5 separate regions of the Homo sapiens genome follow, and regions 2, 3, 4 and 5 are each linked to region 1. The links are contacts of gene promoters, found by promoter capture Hi-C in blood cells and fetal thymus (Javierre and others, 2016). All regions are on one chromosome and are shown on one strand. The core of a region is centred on a gene start or on the middle of the fragment in contact, and the rest is flanking DNA. Distances in the headings are between cores, read along the strand shown.

The links. Contacts are between HindIII fragments. The CHiCAGO score rates a contact against its expected background, and 5 or more counts as called.
Region 2: a fragment that was not itself captured here is called in contact with the fragment with the promoter of CNGA3 in region 1 in 6 of 17 cell types (total B cells, naive B cells, total CD8 T cells and 3 more); the score reaches 8.9 in total B cells.
Region 3: a fragment that was not itself captured here is called in contact with the fragment with the promoter of CNGA3 in region 1 in 1 of 17 cell types (M2 macrophages); the score reaches 6.3 in M2 macrophages.
Region 4: a contact is called between a fragment that was not itself captured here and the fragment with the promoter of CNGA3 in region 1, in 1 of 17 cell types (naive CD8 T cells). The highest score is 5.8, in naive CD8 T cells.
Region 5: a contact is called between a fragment that was not itself captured here and the fragment with the promoter of CNGA3 in region 1, in 1 of 17 cell types (M2 macrophages). The highest score is 6.0, in M2 macrophages.

What each region holds. Positions count from the first base shown.
Region 1 is chr2:98,343,971-98,348,346 of GRCh38, forward strand. CNGA3 (cyclic nucleotide gated channel subunit alpha 3) reads left to right here and starts at 2,486. Exons shown (of 8, transcript NM_001298.3): 1 at 2,486-2,564. RefSeq lists an enhancer at 2,986-3,497. The HindIII fragment of the contact is 4,952 bases long and covers 503-4,376 here.
Region 2 is chr2:97,848,604-97,853,320 of GRCh38, forward strand. All of the region lies in intron 5 of TMEM131 (transmembrane protein 131), which reads right to left. Among named protein-coding and RNA genes, the nearest start is that of ZAP70, 140 kb to the left of the region's middle. The HindIII fragment of the contact is 301 bases long and covers 3,212-3,512 here.
Region 3 is chr2:98,028,690-98,033,085 of GRCh38, forward strand. No RefSeq gene overlaps it. Among named protein-coding and RNA genes, the nearest start is that of TMEM131, 35 kb to the left of the region's middle. The HindIII fragment of the contact is 3,242 bases long and covers 1,096-4,337 here.
Region 4 is chr2:97,893,644-97,898,039 of GRCh38, forward strand. The region is part of intron 3 of TMEM131 (transmembrane protein 131); the gene reads right to left. Among named protein-coding and RNA genes, the nearest start is that of TMEM131, 100 kb to the right of the region's middle. The HindIII fragment of the contact is 6,077 bases long and covers 1-4,396 here.
Region 5 is chr2:98,003,546-98,007,660 of GRCh38, forward strand. No RefSeq gene overlaps it. Among named protein-coding and RNA genes, the nearest start is that of TMEM131, 9.7 kb to the left of the region's middle. The HindIII fragment of the contact is 2,352 bases long and covers 429-2,780 here.

The DNA of each region.
Region 1 (4,376 bases), core at 1,236-3,735:
AAACATCATTGAGGAGTCCCCCGAGCCACACATGTACACACTTACGCTCAGACTCAATACATCTGGGCTTGGCTGGTATTTTCCTTTCATTTCCTGGCACCGAATTCACAGGTGGATAGAACTGGTCTCATCAGGCTCCCTGGCTCCAGACTTCCTCAGCTCCTGGGTGCTACTCTTTTCCCCACAGACCCCTCCCCACTTCCTTAGTGTCCTGGCTGAGGCTGAAGCAACTTAGCATTCACCTGGCCCCCACCCCCTTCCTCCCACTCTCACCTGCTCTGTCAGAAAGAGGAGATGGTGCTTTCTCCATAGCTCTCTTCTTCCTGTGGTCTCCCTATTCTAACAAACACCAAAAGACTTTGGGTTTCTGAGAATCGCGCTCCTTGGTCTCTTAGTGCCATGGGCCTGTTAGAGCATCCCACTAATTTATTCAGAGGTTGCTGTATCCTGCATCTTCACAAAATCTTGCTGTCCCTTCCACACTCGACCATGCCTCAGTTGAAGCTTGAGCAATAATTGGAAAGGTCCCCAGAGGCCACTCCATTGAGTGAGCATTGGGCCAAATCTGGACCCTCCATCATGGCAGCCTAGGATCTTGCAGCTCGATGACTTTTGCAGGCAAATTCACAGATACATCCCCTTCAGTCTCTTTCCATTCATTTCCAGTCTCTTCATCTGTTTCCACTTTTCAGACACCCAAAGTTCTTCAATGATAACTATTGCCACATACATCATTCCCTAGGGGCCAACTATGTGCCCATTTCTGTGCTAAACACTCTATCTCATTTCATCAGACTCAGGACACTTCTCCATTTCTTGATTAATTCTGTGAGGTCTTGTTTTCCCCTTCAAATCTTAGGAATGATGTGCATTTCAGAAACAAAGTCCAAGGGGATTTTTCAGGATGATGCCTTAAAATGATCTCATGATCACTACTATTTACTCCAAAATCAGGATTTAAGATTCTTTTGAAACTCTGAAATGTTTCTGGACAACAGAAAATAATCATCTGCTTCCAGTCTTCCCTGAGGACAAGCCAGCAGGAAACAGCTTTAACTTGTTGCATAAATTAATGAGATTAGAAGAAATAAAGCATTTCCTGACAATGAGAACTATAAAAAAAATGCACATAACAACTGAGGCACGTGGAGATTCATAATTGAGGCACGTGGAGATTCCCTGGAATAAGAATACTGAAGTCCTCAATGAGGCAAAGTCTCATCTATTATATTTTCTCTTGAAATTATTATAATTTCAGGTTCCTTTCAGAAGCCCAAGTAATAAAATAAGAATTCTCCTCTCTTCCAACTTCTGTGGCTTTGGCTTCCTTTTGTTGATTCACCACTTCCATTTATTTGCTCTTCCACTACCAGAGTCCCTTGAATCTGAACGACTAAGCCTGATTTTCTTTGGGGGAAAATTTGTCTAGGTTTTACTTCCCCCCTTTAAGACATGACATGTGTGCACACATGCACATGTGTGTGTGAGCCATTCTAATTCTTTATTTCTTCAGTGAAAAACATACACTTCATCTCTCCCTTCAAGTATTGCATGAACTCGATGAACTTAAGCCTTCTAAAGATAATGTGTTCAATTAACAGGCGATTTGATAAGTATGCTAGGAAATGCCATGTACTCCAAGTCCTCAGAGAAGCTCTGGTTAGCTGGCTGCGGTGGGATCTGCTTTTGTGGAGTTTCTTCCCATGAGGGTATCAGTCAAGAGAACCTGGAACCCAAGAGGCTTGTCCCAGGCAAGGAGGCTTGGATTCCTCCCGGGACCTGCTCCTGCGATCCAGAACCAGAGCATGCAATTGCTGGTGAGGGAAAGGCAGGATTCGGTCTTCATCCTTCATGGAGAGGTGTGTTCTTGGAAGTACACCTTCTGGGAGGAAAATGAGTTTTAGTAAATAAAGTTATTTTCTCCAAAAAGAGTTTAAGTTCCTTGGGCTTCAATAGGGGTTAAATAATTACTAGCTGGATTGGTGGTTTTAATTTTTAGTTCAGGAAATCCGATGTTATCTGATGTGATGGAAGGAAACAAAAACTCTGCAAGGAGAATACACATTGTCCCAAAGAGAAACTTGTTTCTAACATCTTCCCTAAGATGGCAAACGGGTCCAAGACTTTGTGCGTGTGTGTGTGTGTGTGTCCCCACCTTTAAACTTCAAACCCCAGATCTCTGTTGCTTACTCATCCAGTGTGGATTACACTACCAGCAAAACATCCCAGGAAGGAGTCCAGGGTGGCCGCCCACAGTTAGGAGAGAACCCAGAACGGAACGACGGACTTGTTTGCTTTCTTGCCCCTGACTCTCCCCGTCCTCCCTGGGAGGGTTGGGGATGTGAACTAATGACTTCTGCCTCTTTCGGACCGCCTTTGAGGCTCCAGAGCCTCACCTTACTTTCCCACGGAGAGGGAGGCCACAGGCTCCTTCAGCAGTCGCCGAGCAGAGTCCTGGGCCGGGAGCGCGGGGGAGGGAGCGAGCGGAACTGCGCCTAGGAGGCCGAGGGAGGAGGCGCTCCGCAGACCCTGGCGCGCCGCGGAGAAGCTCAAACTTTGGCAGGGTAAGGATTTTTAGGGGCTCTTGAGCTGGAATTTTTTGGGGGGCGCCGGGAGGTGTGCTGGGGCCGCAGACCCCATACAGGAGGTAAGTTAGAGAACCACACGCAGGGGAGGGATGCTGCTGCTTCCAGGGGCGGGCGCGGCGCTGTCCGCAGCCCCCGGTGCTGAAACGGGCCGCGGGCTGGAGAGAAAGTGAAAAAGGATCGGCTACGGCCTCGGCTCCCACTCCCCGGCTCCCATACCCCTCCAGTCCAGTTCAAAGGACAGGAAGCCCTCCCCGTGCTCCCCAAGCCGATCGCACCCCCTTTTACTCACGTCCCACAGCCGCGCTGGGCCGAGCCCGCTGAGCCGTCGGGGCGGGAGGCAGAAGGAGCAGGGCTGGCTCCCGCTGGGGACGGGTAGGGCTTGCAGCCGCGACCCCACCCCATACATTTCCTCCTGTCACGCTGTCCCCGGACCGCCAGTCCGGGAAGGACCCACTTCCCCGGCTCCAAGTCGGGAGCGGGCGCCGCGTCTTCTCGAGTCCGCGCCGCGCCGGGGGAGGTTGAGTCAGTGGCCTGGAGGGAGCAGGGCCGGGGGAAGGCAGCGGCGAAGGACTGCCCCCCAACCCAGGGGACTATTTTCCCTTGGGGATTCAAAGAGAAAGGTAGGCTGAGGAGGAGGCGAGAATTAAAATTCTTTTAGGAGTGCGCGGTTACTTTTTTTAATGATAAAATCACACCCGGGATCTCGGACGCCCGGGGCTTAGTGCTCGGTGATGGAGGAGAAGGGGCGGCGGGCTCTCTGATCCTCTGCAATCCCCTAACCGGATAAAGGCGCCGGGCTCCCAGCCGTCAGGCTTTTCTCTTTAGCTCAGCCCGCGGCCCCTCCCGACGCCCCTGGGGGCCTTGGCGCGCAGGCCCTCGCAGTCCCGCAACCCCGGGCCGGGTGATTCATTTTTCTCCCTGTGTAATCTCCCTACTGAGCGGCGCAGCTGGGACTTTAACTTCGGCCCTCTGCAGCGGGGGTCTCCGGTTGGCGCGGCGCGTGAGGGAGGATGAATGGCGCTGGAACCTAGAGGACCTGGAGCCGGCGCCCCGGCCTCTTTGGCCTGAACCAGGTGCCTCTGACACGCAGTCCGCCGGCTCAGGCCTCGCCGGAAGCTGGCGGGAGCAGTCCCTTGCAGCGAAGCCCGGCACCCCGACGGCAGACGCTCCCCATCACATCTTCCAAAGGGGCGAGGCTGGGATCAGCAGGAATGGCACCCACCCGGGTTCAGACTCCATCCCGGAGTGGACAGCTCGGTGCCCCTAACATTATGCACTGTCCGCCACCCCCTCCCCCCAACACATACACACTTTCATTCATGAAAACCAGCAAGAATAGTGCTGTCTGGGCACGGAGTCCAATGTACAGCGTGCGTTCACGCTGAGAATTCATGGGGGACGCGGGTGGTTGGGCCGGGAGAGGAGAGATGGTCACTTGTGTGTGGTATCCACCAACTGGGTCTTCTACGCCAGAGTCCCAGTTGTAGAAAAGTCGGCCAGGTCAGAGGACCCAGATGGGATTTCACTAAGCTGGTGGGAGCTTCTTTGCGTTCTTTGGGGTAGGGGGAAGGACAGGAACTCCCCCTGCTTCGCACCAATGCCCAAACACCGCACTTCCTCTTCAGCCTCGGTTCAGCCACAGAGAGGGGCCTCCTCCTGTGTAGATGCCCGGAGGGGAGGAGCGGTGGTTCTTGGGGTGACTGGCTGGTGGAGGCAGGATCTTAATCACTTTAGCTGGGACTTTGGCCGTGACTACGTGTGCACTTGCCTTTGATGCTCCTGTTTCTA
Region 2 (4,717 bases), core at 2,112-4,611, 490 kb before region 1:
TTGTTCAGTACAGAAGCACTATTTTTTTTTTCTCAAATAGTTTTGACCTGCAGTTGACTGAATCCATGGATGAGAAGCTCATGGATACACAGGGCCAGCTGTACTTCTAGGAAAAAAAAAGGAGAAAATCTTTGTGACTTTGGATTAGGCAAAGATTTCCTAGCTACAACTCCCAAAGCATGACCCATAAAAGAACAATTTGATAAACTGGACACCATGAAAATTATAAACTTCTGCTCTTTCAAATATTATATAAAAAGAATGAAAAGGTATGACACAAACTGGAAGAAAAGACTTGCAAATCACATATCTCAAGAAAGACTTGTATCCTGAACACATAAGGAACTCTCACGAACTCAATGAGAAAACAAACAACTCAACTTAAAAAACAGGCAAAGAACTGAACAGACACTTCACCAAAGAAAACATATGGATGGCAAATAAAAAGATGCTCAAAATCAATTTTCACTGGAGAATGCAAATTAAGATAAAAATGGCCTAACACTGTACACCTAGCTGAGTGACTCGCATCACAAAAAACCCAAACCTCACAATACAGAGTGCTAATAAGGATGTGGAGCAACCAAAACTCTCATGTTTCTCATGGGAATACAAACTGGAACAGTTGTTATAAAAAACTGTTAAAATCTGTAGGTAAATATTTACAGTGAGTTTATTTATAATAACTCCAAACTGGAAACACCCCAAAAGTCTTCAACTAGTGAATGAATAAACCACACAGTGACACCGCCAGCCAATGAAATACTATTCCATAATAATAAAGTGGTACAAAGAACTGATACAGCCTACTACACCAACCAATATGAAATGCATTATGCTAAAAGAAAGAAGCCAGACTAAAAATGCTATATGCTACATGGTTCCATTAATACAGTCTTCTGGAATAGGCTACACTCAGTGGTTTGAGTTGACCAAATTGTTGATTATATGACCTTATGGGTTTGTCAAAACTCAGAACTATACACTAAAAGGGTGAATTTCACTGCAAGTATACTATAATTTAAAAACAAATACATATAAAATATATATTAAATACATCAGTGTGTCTATGTATATATATGTGTGTGTCTGTGTGTGTATATCTCTCTCTCTCTTTTTTTTTTTTTTTTTTTTTTTACTGTTTTGGGTGAATCCACGAGGGTTGCGGATTCACTCAAGCATATTTTAGCCTGGACCTTTTTTCATAAGGGTCTCAGTGTTCATGTTCCCCTGGGGCAAGAACAAATAATTGAATGTTCAGGTTTAACTCTTGGTGGGCAAGATTAAAGCCAAATTAACTTTAAAACAACAAAATCTTGAAATGAAGTAGATAATATCACTGAGTTCAGGCAGTCCACCCACACTTTTTATTGTTGTGAATTTAATTCTACAGAATCATATGACTGGTCACCCTTTTATCACCTTCCTAACTCCCTCTGACAATATAAGGATTCACAGAACTGACACTGAGAGACATAGAGAGGACTCTCCGGCAGTATGAAAAAAACAAAACAAAACAAAACATGACAATATCATTTTCCCATCTAAGATGCCAGTGCTTGTAATACAGATGTTTTATACCATACCAAGAATGAGAAAAAGAAAAAAAAGAGAATGTTCAAAAATGCAGACCTAACAGATCTTCAGATAAAACAAGGAGTGAGGATGACAAGTACAAACCTGACCCACAGAAAGGGGCAGTGAAGAAAACTTATGTGAGTCATTCTGGGCACCGCAGGAAGGGAGAAAAACTAACTTATTCTTAGAATTTGCGCTATATATCAGTACTCATAGAGGTGTGTGGTCTGAATACATACCAGTGGTCTAAAAAAACCTCAAGCAGACAATTTAATGTTTCCTTGGTAGTGTTGAGACCACCAGTGCCATCCTCTCTGGAAAAACACACCCTTAATCCAGGCTGACCATGACTGTAAGGTGCCCTTGACTGTAACATGGGTCTCAATTTCTGATATAAAAGATGTGAAAAAAACATTTACCTATGTAACGAACCTGCACATCCTGCACATGTATCCCTGAACTTAAAATAAAAGTTGAAAGAAAAAAAACAGTAGCAAAATTAGTACAATAAATGCTGTGTATCCACCTAAAAAAAATCTAAAATGTTCTCTAAAAAAAGGTGAAAGTTTTAGAATTATGGTATTCCTACCCAAGAACAGTTCTAGTGTCAATGAAGAGATTCATAAGGCCTATGTTTATTACTGAAAATGTATCCAGAGGAAAACTGGTTTCCTTTAAGGTTTTTATGAGAACTTAATTTGATTTAAAAATGTCTATATTCAAACAATACCCTTTTAAGGCCCATCTAAACTCCAAAGAGTTAGAAAAATCACCATGGAATGTTTAATTTTTAGTGCAGTTTTCTGCCACTATCGGAACTGGACATCTAGTATGTAGATGATGGATAGGAGATCTGAGTTTCTAGTAATACCACTAAGAAACCGTAATTTTCCCAAGTCAGCACTGTACCATAGCTCAGTCCCTGGGCTTTTTCCTTCCTTGGTGATCTCATCCAGATCCATGGCTTCAGATATACACTAGTGACTCCTAAATTTCTATTTCTAGTCGAGTTCTCATATACCAAACTCGAATACTATCTGCCTATTTGCCACCTCCTCTTGGATATCTAGGAGATACCTGAAATCTAACATGTCCAAATTGAACTACTGATTGTACCTCTGAAACCCGTTCTACCCTCTGCCTTCTTCAATTCAGCTGACTCAACTCTGTCCTTCTAGTTGCTCAGGACAAAATTCTAGAGTCAATTTTGACTCTTCTCTTTCTCTCAAATCCCACATCAGGAAATCCTGTTGGGTGTATCTTCAAAACATACAGCATATCTCATTTTATTGTGCTTTGCTTTACTGCACTTCGCAGGTACTGCAGTTTTTTGTTTGACAAATTAAAGGTTTGTAGCAACCACGCATCAAGCAAGTCTATCAGTGTCATTTTTCCAACACCATGTACTCACTTTCTATCTCTGTGTCACATTTTGGCAATCTTGCAATATTTCCAAATTTTTCATTATTATTATATCTGCATGGTGATCTGTGATCTTTGATGTTGCTACTGAAATTGTTTTAGGGCACCACAAATTATGCCCACATAAGATGGCAAGCTTAAATCGAAAAATGTTATGTGTGTTCTCATTGCTCCACCAACTGCTGTTCTCCCAACTCCCTTCCTCTCCTCAAGCTTCCCTATTCCTAAGATACAATAATATTACAATTAGGCCAATTAGTAGCCCTACAATGGCCTGTAAGTGTTGGAGTAAAAGGAAGGGTTGCACATCTCTCACTTTAACCCAAAATCTGGAAATAAGGTTAGTGAGGAAGACATGCTCAAAGCCAAGAGAGGCTCAAAGCTAGGCCTTTAGTGCCAAACAGCCAAGCTGTGAATGCAAAGGAAAAGTTGTTGAAGGAAGTTAAAAATGCTATTCCAGTGAACACACATGTGGTAAAGAAGGAAAACAGCCTTATTGCTGATAGGGATAAAGCTTTAGTGGTCTGGATGGAAGAGCTAAGCAGCCACGGCATTCTCTTTTTTTTTTTTTTTTTTTGAGATGGAGTTTCGCTTGATGCCCAGGCTGGAGTGCAATGGCGTGGTCTTGGCTCACTGCAATCTCTGCCTTCCAGGTTCAAGCGATTCTTGTGCCTCAGCCTCCTGAGTAACTGAGATTATAGGTGCACACCACCACACCCAATTTTTGTATTTTTAGTAGAGATGGGGTTTCACCACGTTGGCCAGGTTGGTTTCGAACTCCTGACCTTAGGTGATCCACCTGCCTCAGCCTCCCAAAGTGCTGGGACTACAGGCGTGAGCCACCACGCCTGGCCTTGCCATACCATTCTCTTAAGCCAAAGTCTAATCCAGAGCAAGGCCCTGACTCTCTTTAATTCTGTGAAGGCTGAGAGAGGGGAGGAAGCTGCAGAATAGCTGAAAGCTAAAAGGGATCGATTCATGAGGTTTAAGAAAAGAAGCCAGCTCCATCACATAAAAGTGCAAGGTGAAGCATTAAATGCTGATGTACAAGTTGCAGCAAGTTATCCAGAAGATCTAGCTAAGATCATTGATGAACGTGGCCACACTAAACAACAAATTTTCCATGTAGATCAAGCAGCCTTCTGTTGGAAGATACCATCTAAAGAGAAGTCAGTGCCTGGCTTCAAAGCTTCAAAGGACAGGCTGACTCTCTCTTATTAGGGACTAACACAGCTGGTGGCTTTAAGTTGAAGCCAGTGCTCATCTGCCATTCTGAAAATTCTAGAGACCTTAAGAACTGTGCTAAATCTATTCTACCTGTGCTCTATAAATGGACAAGGCCTAGATAACAGCACATCTATTTATAACATGGTTTACTGAATATTTAAAATCCACTGTTGAGACCTAATGCTCAGAAAAAAGATTTCTTTCCAAATATTACTGCTCAGTGACAAGGCAACTGGTCACCCAGGAGCTCTGATGAAAATGTACAAGAAGATGCACGTTGTTTTCATGACTGCTAACACAACATCCATTCTTCAGCCAAGGATCAAGGAGTAATTTCAAGTTGCAAGTCTTCTTATTGAAGAAATACACTGCTTAAGGCTATAGCTGCCACAAAGGGTGATTCCTCTGATGGATCTGGGCAAAGTCCATTGAAAACCTCCTGGAAATGAGTCACCATTCTAAATGCCATTAAGAACATTTGCAGCTGGGC
Region 3 (4,396 bases), core at 1,467-3,966, 320 kb before region 1:
CTCCTGCTGTCCTGGCTCTCACTGCCCAAACCCATTTTTTATGCTCAACTGGACTTTCAACTTTGTTCCTCTATGCTTCTTGCTTTGACCTGGAACTTTCAGATTTGGGGCCTACCGTTTCCATCAGTGTCTTGGTAGTCCTAGCTCCTGCCTATAAATGTACATATATTCCCTTGATACTACTGTACTGACAAACCAGTCAATGAGTTTCCAATTTCCAGAGCCCTTTACTCCAGCAGCCATTGCTGCTGCCCTTGTCAGACCCCAGGCCACAATCTCCCAGCTGCCCACTGAGCACTGCTGGCCAGGCTTTAGCCATTGGATCATGTCATTAACTTCACGGACACAGAATATTTTTCTTGGATCTGAATTCTTTGTGTGTTTGTCTCACACTTTTGACCTCTTAAGGGTGGAGTCTGCAATGCCTGACACAGTGCCTTGCAAACAAGAGCTCAGAAGATATTAACTCAACACTGTTTGAACACGGGCACCTTAAGGTGACTCGGGCAGCTCCCAGTGGGTTCCAGCCATGGCCACACCTCAGGGTGCTGCTCACCCACAGCTAGGCGCAGGTTACGCTGTCTCTTAAGGTTGATAACTGGACACTTCCAGAATGAAAAGGACCAAATGTCCCCATTTTGAATGTATGTCCCCTGCTGTGTTCCCAGGACCCGTCAGTCTCCTCCTTTCCTGCTTTTGCTCAACTTGTACGTGACCACCAGTCACACCAGAAAAAAGAGACTCTCTCTGGCTAGCCTGCAGGGTCCCTGAGGCCAGGTGCTGGGGTTTTTGTATGTCTGTACCTCCCCAGGGCCAAGCCCCTGCCTGCTCCGTGCTGGGCCTAGAGTTTGCACTCATTACAGTTTATGGCTTGAACACTTTCGGCCCCAGCCCGTGCCCTCTGTTCGTGCCATGTTTGCTTTCGGTGGTTGCTAGAATCTTTTTTCTCTCCTTTAAATTTCTGCCTGAACATTTTATAACATTTGCATTTTGATTTTTAAGTATTAATGTATTCTCCATTTATTATTGATAAGAGAAAAGGCGGAAGACAGAAGGGCCTGTGGGAAACTGATGGCATCACCCAGGGGTCAGACAAGCTTCTGTTTGAACCCTGCTGTGCTAGTTCTCTATGCTATGCAGCTGATTACCTCAACGTGATTCATAATAACACAAGTATTTCTTATTTCATTTTCAGTGAGGCAGGAATTTAGGGGTGACTTAGCTGGGAGGTTCCAGTTGAGAATTTCTCATGTGGTTGCAGTCAAGATGTCAGCTGAGGCTGAGTTATCTGAAGGCTTGACTGAGGTTGGAAGATTCACACCTAACATGGGTCACCCACTTGGCTGCTAGCAGGAGGCTTCAGTTTCTCGCCATATGGGCCTCTTCATAGACAGTGTGAATGTCCTCATGACTTTCGGCTAACTTCGCCCTAAGCAAGCACTCCGAGAGACAGAAGGCAGAAGCCACATATCATTTATGGCCTAGCCTCAGAAGCAATATACCATCACCTCTGCCACATTCCCTTGGTCACATAGACTGATCCTGATTCAGTGTGGGGGGCTGGGACTGTGGAAGGGCATAAATACTGGAAGTAGGACTCATTGGAGGTCATCTTGGAGGCTGGCTACCACACTTGCTTATCCAGGGAGTGTCTTTGTGCAAGTTATTTAACCTCCCTAAGCCTCAGTTTGTGCATTTGTAAATAATAATATTTACAGAGATTCGTGAAGATTAAATACTTATGAAGTCCTCTTACAAAGTGCTTGGAACTGCCCCAAGGTCTTCCCACATTTCCCAGGACTCCTCCAGGAAAGCCAATTGCAGCTTCTCTTTTAGAAACCCTCCATCCTCTGCTCTCACCTCCTCCCCTATTCATCCTTTCCCTCCTCACTTGTCAGGAAATTTTCTAATCTGACAGGGTTGTTGTGGGGGTGAGCCTCCTTCTTCAAACCTCATGTCCCCAAATACATGTCTATGCTTTGGTCCTCCGTGTTCCCCTAGGGACCATGCTTTGGAATCCATGCCTTCAGATTACTGCAGCCCCAGCTGACACTTTGACTGTATCTACAGCAGAAATTCTGGACTGGAACCACCCAGCTGAGGGACTCCCAGATTCTTGCCTCATGAAAGGTGTGAAATAAAAATCTTGTTTTAAGTCACTTTGGGAAGAATCTTGCTGGTAATTTCCACCGTCCCCCACCATCCTATCATCTCCCTGACCATATCAGGACTGAATATTTGCTTGGGAAGAACGCCAGAAAAGAAAAAAAAAAAGTTTTTTTAAATAATAATAACCCCAAAATTGGTTATTTTAGAAATCTTATTTTACCAAACACAGGATAAATATAAGATATCATAGGAGTTTCACTCACATCCATGTGAAGAGACCACCAAACAGCCTTTGTGTGAGCAACAAGGCTGTTTATTTCACCTGGGTGCAGCGGGCTGAGTCCAAAAAGAGAGTCAGGGAAGGGAGATAGGGGTGGGGCCGTTTTATAGGATTTGGGTAGGTAAAGGAAAATTATAGTCAAAGGGGGTTGTTCTCCGGTGGGCAGGGGTGGGGGGTCACAGGGTGCTCAGTAGGGGAGCTTTTGAGCCAGGATGAGCCAGGAGAAGGAATTTCACAAGATGATGCCATCAGTTAATGCAGGAACAGGCCATTTTCACTTCTTTTGTGATTCTTCAGGTACTTCAGACCATCTGGATGTATACGTGCTGGTCACAGGGGATATGATGGCTTAGCTTGGGCTCAGAGGCCTGACAAGAAGTATCTCCTAAATTTGACTGGCTTCTTGGAGGAGATTACTATCAAGTGCAAATGAGAGCCACCCAGTGTCTTAGTCAAGATTCTCCAGAGAGACAGAACCAATAGGCTAGACATATAGATGATTGGATAGACGATAGATAGATAGATAGATAGATAGATAGATAGATAGATAGATAGATACATAGATACATAGATACATAGATAGATACATAGATGGAGTAGGTAGACAGATACAGAGGAGGGATTTTATCAGGGAAACTGGCTTATATGATTGTGAAGGCTGAGAAGTCCCATAACAGGCTGTCTGCAAACTGGAGACCCTGGGATGCCAGTAGCCTGGCCTAATCCAAGTCCACAGGCCTCAGAACAAGGGAAGCAGATGGTGGAACTCTCAGTCCAAGACCAAGGACCTGAGAACCTGGGGAGCCTCTGGTGCAGGTCCTGGAGTCCCAGAGCTGGAGATCCTGGAGTTCTGGTGTCCACGGGCAAGAAAAGAAGGGTGTCCTGCTCCAGGAGAGAGAGAGGAAATCACCTTTCCTCTGACTTTTTTGTTCTTTCTGGGCCGCAGCTGATTGGATGGTGCCCACCTACCTTGAGGGGAGATCTTCCTCATTCAGCCTATCAACTCACACTCCAGTCTCCTGGAGACATCCTCACAAACACACCCAGAAATAATGCCTTCCTAGTTCTCTAGGTATTCCTTAATCCATCTAGGTTGACACCTAAAATTCACCATCACATGCAAAGTATCAGTTCCTAGGCTGCTGTAACAAAGTACCACCAACTGTGTGGCTGAAGATAGAACTGTGTTGCCTCGCAGTCCTGGAGGCTGGGAGTCTGAGATCAAGGTGTCAGCAAGGCCTGCTGCCTCTGAAGCCTGGAGGGGAGTCCTTCCTTGCCTCTTCCTGGCTTCCAGGGGTCACCAGCATCTGTGCTGTTCCTCGGCTTGCAGCTGCATCACTCCCATCTCTGCCTTTGTCATCCCATGCTGCTCTCCCTGTGTGTCTGTATCTTTGCATGATGGTTTTAAAAATAAGGACATTATCATATTGGATTAGGAACCTACCCTACTCCAGTATGACTTCATCTTAACTAATTATATCTGCAAAGACACTCTTCAAATAAAGTCACATTCTGCAGTACTGAGGGCCAGAACTTCAACACATCTTTTTTGGAAGAGCACAATTCAGCCCATACACTTGGAGAGGGATGGGGTGGGCCCTGGATTCGGTTTCAGCTCCTTGTGTAGAAAGTGACTGTGTAAACTCAGGTAGGTGTGGAGTATTTCTGCCCCTGCTGCCAGCAGGGATTGAGCTGGGGTGGGGGTGGTTGGCCCCAAGCTACAGGGGGAAGATAATCAAGGAGGCTAGGGGATCAGGGTGACCCGAAGTGAGTCAAAGACAATAGTCAGACAGTGAAAAGGAAGACTGTCCCAAACGGAAGCTGGGACAGGAAGGGAACAAAGAAATGAGTATGTTTAGATTACCAGATACTCTTATAAGTTGAAATGTTGAAACACTTGAAAAATGACAATTATTTAGGATGGTAGGAAGAGGGAGGCCCAGGCAGAAGCTTCAGATACCTTTGTATGAGATAGTTGTGGGAATAGAATAGACTTCCAGAGGCATG
Region 4 (4,396 bases), core at 880-3,379, 450 kb before region 1:
GATGATGAGCTTTTTTAAATATGTTTGTTGGCCGCATAAATGTCTTCTTTTGAGAAGTGTCTGTTCATATCCTTCACCCACTTTTTGATGGTTTTTTTTTCTTGTAAATTTAAGTTCTTTGTAGATTCTGGATATTAGCTCTTTGTCAGATAGATTGCAAGAATTTTCTCCCATTCTGTAGGCTGCCTGTTCACTCTGATGATAGTGCCTTTTGCTGTGCAGAAACTCTTTAGTTTAATTAGATCCCATGTGTCAATTTTGGCTTTTGCTGCCATTGCTTCTGGTGTTTTAGATATGAAGTCTTTGCCCATGCCTACGTCCTGAATGGTATTGCCTAGGTTTTCTTCTAGGATTTTTATGGTTTTAGGTTTTACGTTTTAAGTCTTTAATCCATCTTGAGATAATTTTTGTATAAGGTATAACGAAAGGGTCCAGTTTCAGTTTTCTGCATATGGCTAGCCAGTTTTCCCAACATCATTTATTAAATAGGGAATCCTTTCTGCATTGCTTGTTTTTGTCAGGTTTGTCAAAAGATCAGATGGCTGTAGATGTGTGGTGTTATTTCTGAGGCCTCACTTCTGTTCTATTGGTTTATGTATCTGTTTTGGTACCAGTACCATGCTGTTGTGGTTACTGCAGCCTTGCAGAATAATTTGAAGTCAGGTAGCATGATGCCTCTAGCCTTGTTCTTTTTGCTTAGAGTTGTCTTGGCTACGTGGGTTCTTTTTTCGTTCCATATGAAGTTTAAAGTAGTTTTTTTCAATTCTGTGAAGAAAAGTCAATAGTAGCTTGATGGGGACAGCATTGAATCTATAAATTACTTTGGGCAGTATGGCCATTTTCACGATATTGATTCTTCCTATCCATAAGCATGGAAAGTTTTTCCATTTGTTTGTGTCCTCTCTTAATTTCCTTGAGCAGTGGTTTGTAGTTCTTCTTGAAGACGTCCTTCATATCCCTTGTAAGTTGGATTCCTAGGTATTTTGTTCTCTTTGTAGCAATTGTGAATGGGAGTTACTCATGATTTGGCTGTCTGTTATTAGCGTATAGGAACGCTTGTGATTTTTGCACAGTGAAGTATCCTGAGACTTTGCTGAAGTTGCTTATCAGCTTAAGGATATTTTGAGCTGAGATGATGGGGTTTTGTAAATATACCATCATTTCATCTGCGAACAGAGACAACTTGACTTCCTCCTTTCCTATTTGAATACTCTTTATTTCTTTCTCTTGCCTGACTGCCCTGGCCAGAACTTCCAATACTGTGTTGAATAGGGGTGGTGAGACAAGGCATCCTTGTCTTGTGCCAGTTTTCAAAGGGAATGCTTCCAGTTTTTGCCCATTCAGCTTGATAGTCGCTGTTGGTTTGTCATAAATAGCTCTTATTAGTTTGAGATATGTTCCATCAATACCTAATTTATTGACAGTTTTTAGCATGAAGGGGTGTTGAATTTTGTCGAAGGCCTTTTCTGCATCTATTGAGATAGTCATGTGGTTTTTGTCGTTGGTTCTGTTTATGTGATGGATTACGTTTATTGATTTGCATACGTTGAACCAGCCTTACATCCTAGGGATGAAGCCAACTTGATCGTGGTAGATAAGCCTTTTGGTGTGGTGCTGGATTTGGTTTGCCAGATTTTATTGAGGCTTCTCGCATCGATGTTCATTAGGGATATTTGCCTGAAATTTTCTTTTTTTGATGTGTCTCTGCCAGGTTTTGGATCAGACGATGTTGGCCTCATAAAATGAGTTAAGGAGGATTCTCTCTTTTTCTATTGATTGGAATAGTTTCAGAAGGAATGGTACCAGCTCCTCTTTGTACCTCTGGTTGAATTTGGTTGTGAATCTGTCTGGTCTTGGACTTTTTTTGGTTGGTAGGCTATTAATCACTGCCTCAATTTCAGAACTTGTTATTGGTCTATTCAGGGATTCGACTCCTTCCTGATTTAGACTTAGGAGGGTGTATGTGTCCAAGAATTTATCCATTTCTTCTAGGTTTTCTAGTTTATTTGCGTAGAGGTGTTTATAGTATTCTCTGATGGTAGTTTTTTATTTCTGTCAGATAAATGGTGATATCCCCTTTATCATTTTTTATTGCATCGATTTGATTCTTCTCTCTTTTCTTCTTTATTAGTCTGGCTAGTGATTTATTTTGTTGGTCTTTTCAAAAACACAGCTCCTGGATTCATTGATTTTTTGAAGGGTTTTTTGTGTCTCTATCTCCTTCAGTTCTGCTCTGATCTTAGTTATTTCTTATCTTCTGCTAGATTTTGAATTTGTTTGCTTTTGCTTCTCTAGTTCTTTTAATTTTGATGTTATGGTGTCGATTCTAGATCTTTCCTGCTTTCTCTTGTGAGCATTTAGTGCTATAAATTTCCCTCTGCACATTGCTTTAAATGTGTCCCGGAGATTCTGGTACATTGTGTCTTCGTTCTCATTGGTTTCAAAGAACATCTTTTTTCTGCCTTCATTTCATTATTTACCCAGTAGTCATTCAGGAGCAGGTTGTTCAACTTCCCTGTAGTTGTGCAGTTTTAAGTGAGTTTCTTAATCCTGAGTTCGAATTTGATTGCACTGTGATCTGAGAAACTGTTATGATTTCTGTTATTTTGCATATGTTGAGGAGTGTTTTCCTTCCAATTATGTGGTCAATTTTAGAATAAGTGTGATCTGGTGCTGAGAAGAATGTATATTCTGTTGATTAGGGGTGGAGAGTTCTGCAGATGTCTATTAGGTTTGCTTGGTCCAGAGCTGAGTTCAGGTCCTGAATATCCTTGTTAATTTTCTGTCTCGTTGATCTGTCGAATATTGGCAGTGGATGTTAAAGTCTCCCACTATTATTGTGTGGGAGTTTAAGTCTCTTTGTAGGTCTCTAAGAACTTGCTTTATGAATCTGGGTGCTCCTGTATTGGGTGCATATATATTTAGGATAGTTAGCTCTTCTTGTTGCATTGATCCCTTTACCATTATGTAATGCCCTTCTTTGTCTCTTTTGATCTTTGTTGGTTTCAAGTCTGTTTCATCAGAGACTAGGATTGTAACCCCTGCTGAAAAGGAGTATTCTTGTGCCATTGAATTACCTTGACACATCTGGACAAGAAGTTTTAAACTTGATCTTCAAAACATGTAGTTTAAATCTTCTGATGTTTTTCTTTTTAAAACTTGTTTGGTCTATTCTAGATGCTTAACGTTTTCCATCTAATCTTGAAAAGCAGCTTATCAATTTCTAAAAAAAAAAATTGTCTGTTGAAATTTCTATTGGAATTGCTTAATCTAAAACTGATCTGGGGAGAATTATCATCTTCACAGTCTTCTAATCCATGAACGCGGAATCTTTCTCAATATATCTAGGAGTTCTTTAATTACTCTATATTACAGTTTTCAGTGTACAGGTCTCAACATTTTTTTTGTTAAATTTATCCCAAAGTATGCAGTGATTTATGCCATTGTAAATCACATTTTTCTACAACATTTTATTTTTGTATTTGTTATGAAGAAATCAGTTACTTCTGATTACTGACTGTATTACTTTTTGGTATATTCCTTAGGACTTTCTATGCACACAATCACATGGTTTGTAGACAAAATCCTTTTTGTTTTTCCTTTCCAATCTGATGGCTCTTATTTCTGTTTCTTGTCTTAATGTAATGACTACCACATCCAGTACAATGTTTAATGTAAGTGATGAAAGTGGACATCCTTGCCACTTTCCCAATCTTAGAAAGAAAGCATTCAATCTTTTACCATTAATACCATGTTAACTGTTACTTTTCCATAGATACTCTTTATCAGGTTAAAGACATTCTTCTCTATTCTTAATGTGCTGAACAGATGCTGAATGTTGTCACAGGCTTTTTCTACATCTATTCAAATAATTACAAAGGCGTTTAAAATTTTGTTAACAAGAAAAATTATATTGTTTTCAAATAATAATCTTGCATTCCTAGGATAAAACCCTGTTGGCCATGATGCATTACCCTGTTATCACGTTTCTGGATTTGATTTGCTAATATTCTGTTAGAGATTTCTGAATATATGTTTGAAGAGATGTCGCTTCTAGCTTTCTTTAATGCCTGCAATAATCACCTCATAAAACGTGTAAGGAAGGACATTCTATTCCTCTTTTCTAAAAGCGTTTATGTAAGACTAGTAATTTTTCACTAGGTGTCTGATCGAATTTACCAGTTTAGTCATATGAGCCTGCAGTTTTCTTTGTGGAAAGGTTTAAAACTGTAAATTCTATGTCTTTAACAGATATTTAAAAACTAATTTTCTAATTCTCTCTTGGTTAGTTTTAATAATTTGTATCTTTCAAGTATTTGACCACTTCATCTAAATTGCTGAATTTGAGAATGAAGGGATTCATAATTTCTCTTATTCTTTGAATGTTTATAAGATC
Region 5 (4,115 bases), core at 355-2,854, 340 kb before region 1:
AAGAATTGAATAAACTAAAGTACCATGGAATTACCTAGCAAATGGCAGATATTCAACAATGTCACTGTTATAATAATAATCATTATTATAAAAAAGAAAACTGAGGCCCAGAAATGAAGAAACCTATCCAAGACCATGGCAGGGCAGAGACATGACTTCCAGGCCAGGGTCTCGTCTTTTGTTTCGTCTTCGGGTCCATTTAATTAAAGTTGTATATATCTTTGGTGTTTTATATGGCAGGCCACTCTTATAATTATTGTTTTAATCTCATAATAATGTCGAAGACTACAGAATTAAAATTCTACTCCTCTAGTAAAATGATAGCATGGATCAATATAGTAATATCATAAGAGGTGAATGAAATGATTCCTCAAGAGGACTGACATTAAAAGGTTATTAGCCTTAGCTTGAACTTCCCTGAAATCACAAGCTTAAGCCTAGCCACTTTCTATAAGTCAGGGTAGGCCAAGTTATGCTGTGATGATAAAGAACCCCCAAATCTCAATAGCTTAAAACAGCAATTTGTTTTTTTCTCTCCCACAACATGTTGATCCAGGATCCTGGCTAGTGGAGTAATTTGGGTCACTTGTAGCAGAAAGAAAAGAGGGTTATGGAGGGTCTCCTAATGTCGATTTAAATTTTCTGGTAAGAACTGACGTTTCATCACTTCCACTCACACTCATTGGCCAGAACAAGTCATATGACCACACAAACTTCAAGGTACCAGGGAAGTTCAATCCTCCCATTGGCTGGAGATAAATAAGTGGGCCCATCAGTGAACAGCCCTAGTGACTACCATAGGCTTTGACATATTTTCTTTTCTTCTTAGACAAATAAAAAACAGCAGCCTGAGAAAGGATGATGGAAACTATTTTCATTTTCTCATGAATTATCAAGTTCTAAAGAGCAGATTTAATTTTTTGTCATTTATACATTTTTGTTTGTTGGCTTTATACATTTTTGTTGTAGTCACCAGTGAAATATGAATGTTTTTAAAAGCAGTTGGGGAAATTGAAATTTTAATTTTTAGTCTATGTATTAAGAAAAGCAGTAACAGGGAATATTTGAATACTGATTTTTTTCCTTCCTTCCTTCCTTCCTCCCTCCCTCTGATCTTCCCTCCCTCCCTCCTTTCCCTCCCTCCCTCCTCCTCCTCCTCTCCCTTCCTTTTTTCCTTCCTACCTCCCCTTCCTTCCTTCCTTTCTTCCTTCCTTCCCTCCCTTCCTTTCCTTCCTTCCCTTCCTTCCCTCCCTTCCTTTCCTTCCTTTCCTTCCTTCCTTTCGTAGAGTCTTGCTCTGTCACTCAGGCTGGAGTGCAGTGGCATGATCTTGGTTCACTGTAGCCTTGAGCTCCTGGACTCAAGCAATCCTTCCACTTCCGCATCTTGAGTAGCTGGGACTACAGACATGCACCACCAAGCCCAGCTAAATTTGTGTGTTGGGTGGGGGATGGGTCGTAGGGGTATTGGGAGGGGTGCGTCTCGCTTTCTTGCCCAGATGGGTCTCAAACTCCTGACCTCAAGTGATTCTCCTGTCTCAGTCTCCCAAAGTGCTGGGAATACAGGCGTGAGCCACAAAGCACAGCCTCTACTATACTTCTGATGAGAATTTATTAATCATCTTAGACGTAATAATGGCTATTTTGGATTTTGTAGAGGTTTTTAAAGATTTTTTAAATTCGTTTTATCTTTCAGAAATATATACTGAAGTATGAATCAAATGATATAATGATATTTATTTCTAAATAATCTGCAGGGTGGGTGGGGACAGTGGGCGGGGCTATAGAAGAAAGAGGATCAGCCATGAGTTGGTGATTATTGAAGCTGGGTAATCAACGCGTGGAAGTTCATTATGTTAGTCTGTCTAGTCCCTCTACTTTAGGTACGCTTGGAACTTTCCATAATAAAAAGTTCAAAAAGACAAAAGAAGCAATGATAGGCCTACAGCTACTTCAGATCTAGATGAAGCTCCACTAGAGATGGCTAGCAAGGATCTTAGCCCGTTGCTGGTGCAGGTGGGGCCTGCCTGAGGGTGCATCAGGCCCTAGGAAATATTTCCTCCACAGAATTTTCACTGTTGCCAAACGTCTGAATCAACCAATCTTAGCCTGCAGTGGCAGCCAATGGTGCCCATGCTTTGCAGCATCTACTGGGACCTCAGGACCACCTGCTCTTGTCCTCTAAAGAGGCAGTACCCAGGAGCCTCCTGAGGCCATGATTGCTTGCACAGGTTAGCACAGAAGGCTTGAGTCCAGCTCTGAGCTAATTTCCTCTTCTCTGGTTAGTCTGAGACCCTGGTAGGACACTAAAGTTCGTTTGTTCACTAACATGATACGCACAGACTTTTGATGTCTCTGAGGCAGGCAGAAGCATGTGAGGCATTAGCCTGAGCCAAACACAGGCCTAGGATATGACCTGAGAGCTGCTGCAGATGCACCTCCCTGCCTCCTGAGGCCCCTGCTTTCATCACAGCTCCTTTCCCTTGAGCAGCCTGCTCTCAGCTCTAGCTGCTGCCAATCCCTTCCCATCAGAGATGCAGGCTGTAAGCATCACCAGGGTGAAGTCTGGTGCATCACCCGTTTGTTCTCCCTCTGAGAGCGCAGCTCCCCTGCCCACAGCGGTGGACCTCTGGCACACAGGCTTGTTCTTCATGGTCTTGCCTTCCCTGCCATAGTTAATTGGCCATGGACTCCTTTCCCACATTGGCCCAACCAGATTCTCTTGAACGTTTTCTCCAAGAAATATGGATGTTGAAGATGAGTCTGAATTATGTAAAATGTGAAGCTTACATGACTGTCTATGAACTTTTGCTACAGAGGTACCCTTAGCCCCACCCTGCCAAGAACTGGTTGCTCAGCATTTCCATGGATGCCATTGAAACTGGACTTTATGTATACAAAGTTACATACATATATAGTTTCGTAGTTACATATATGTATAAATAGATATATAGTTACATATGTATGAAACTATATATGTAGTTCCAATGACATATATATACACGTATATATATACGTATACATGTACACGTATACATATATATGTATATATACGTATACAAGTATACGTATATGTGTACGTATGTATACGTATATGTGTACGTATATATACATATATACATATATATATCTCATATATATATATTTCATATATGAGATTGAGGTTGCTTTCTTTGCCAAGTGACTAGAAGGGTGTGGTGGGAAACCTCTAAGACAGCGCCGATTATCTCTACATTCTTCTGTAAACACCCCCACCCCTTGTGTGGGCCAAAGCTAATAACGTTTCTGTTGAATTAAACATGGCTAAAGTGGTGTGTTTTTACTTCAAGTTTAGTTTTAAAAAAAATCTCTGTGTCAGCCTGATGTGGTGGCTCATGCCTGTAATCCCAGCACTTTGGGAAGCCGAGGCAGGTGGATCACCTGAGGTCAGGAGTTGGAGACAAGCCTGGCCAACATGGCGAAACCTCATCTCTACTAAAAATACAAAAATTAGCCTGGCGTGGTGGCGGGTGCTTGTAATCCCAGCTACTTGGGAGGCTGAGGCAGGAGAATTGCTCGAACCCAGGAGGCGAAGGTTGAAGTAAGCCGAGATTTCACCACTGAACTCCAGCTTGGGCGACAAGAGCAAAACTCCATCACTGAGCCCCTGTTACATGCCAGGAGATGCAATAGCACAGGAGATACAGTGCTGAGCAAAACAGCACAGTCGCTGGCCCTGCAGACTCCACCACTATTCAGCAGGACACTTCCTTGGAAGGTGAGAAAAACGAACTCAGACCAGATTGGCCAGAAAGGTAGACATTATCATGAGGAAAAGGAAGTGTGCCGTGGAGACCTGAGAAGGGGGCTGTGGCTGGGTCCCAGAAAAGGATAACACTTGGAAGAGGAAAGTCTCTGAGGACACTTTTTATCTATGTGCCTCTCATCAGCTTCAGTCCTGTCCCTGAAGATGGGTGTTCCTGTTACTCCATCCCCATGGCATAAAACATGTCAGCTGCAGTCTGCACAGAACGGACAGAACCAGAATTTCAGACTCATTTTCAGTTGCAGGAAGTAGAGGCCGGGCCCACCAACTGTGTTTGGGAGGGGGTGGGGCCAAGGGTGCAGTATTCCAGTGC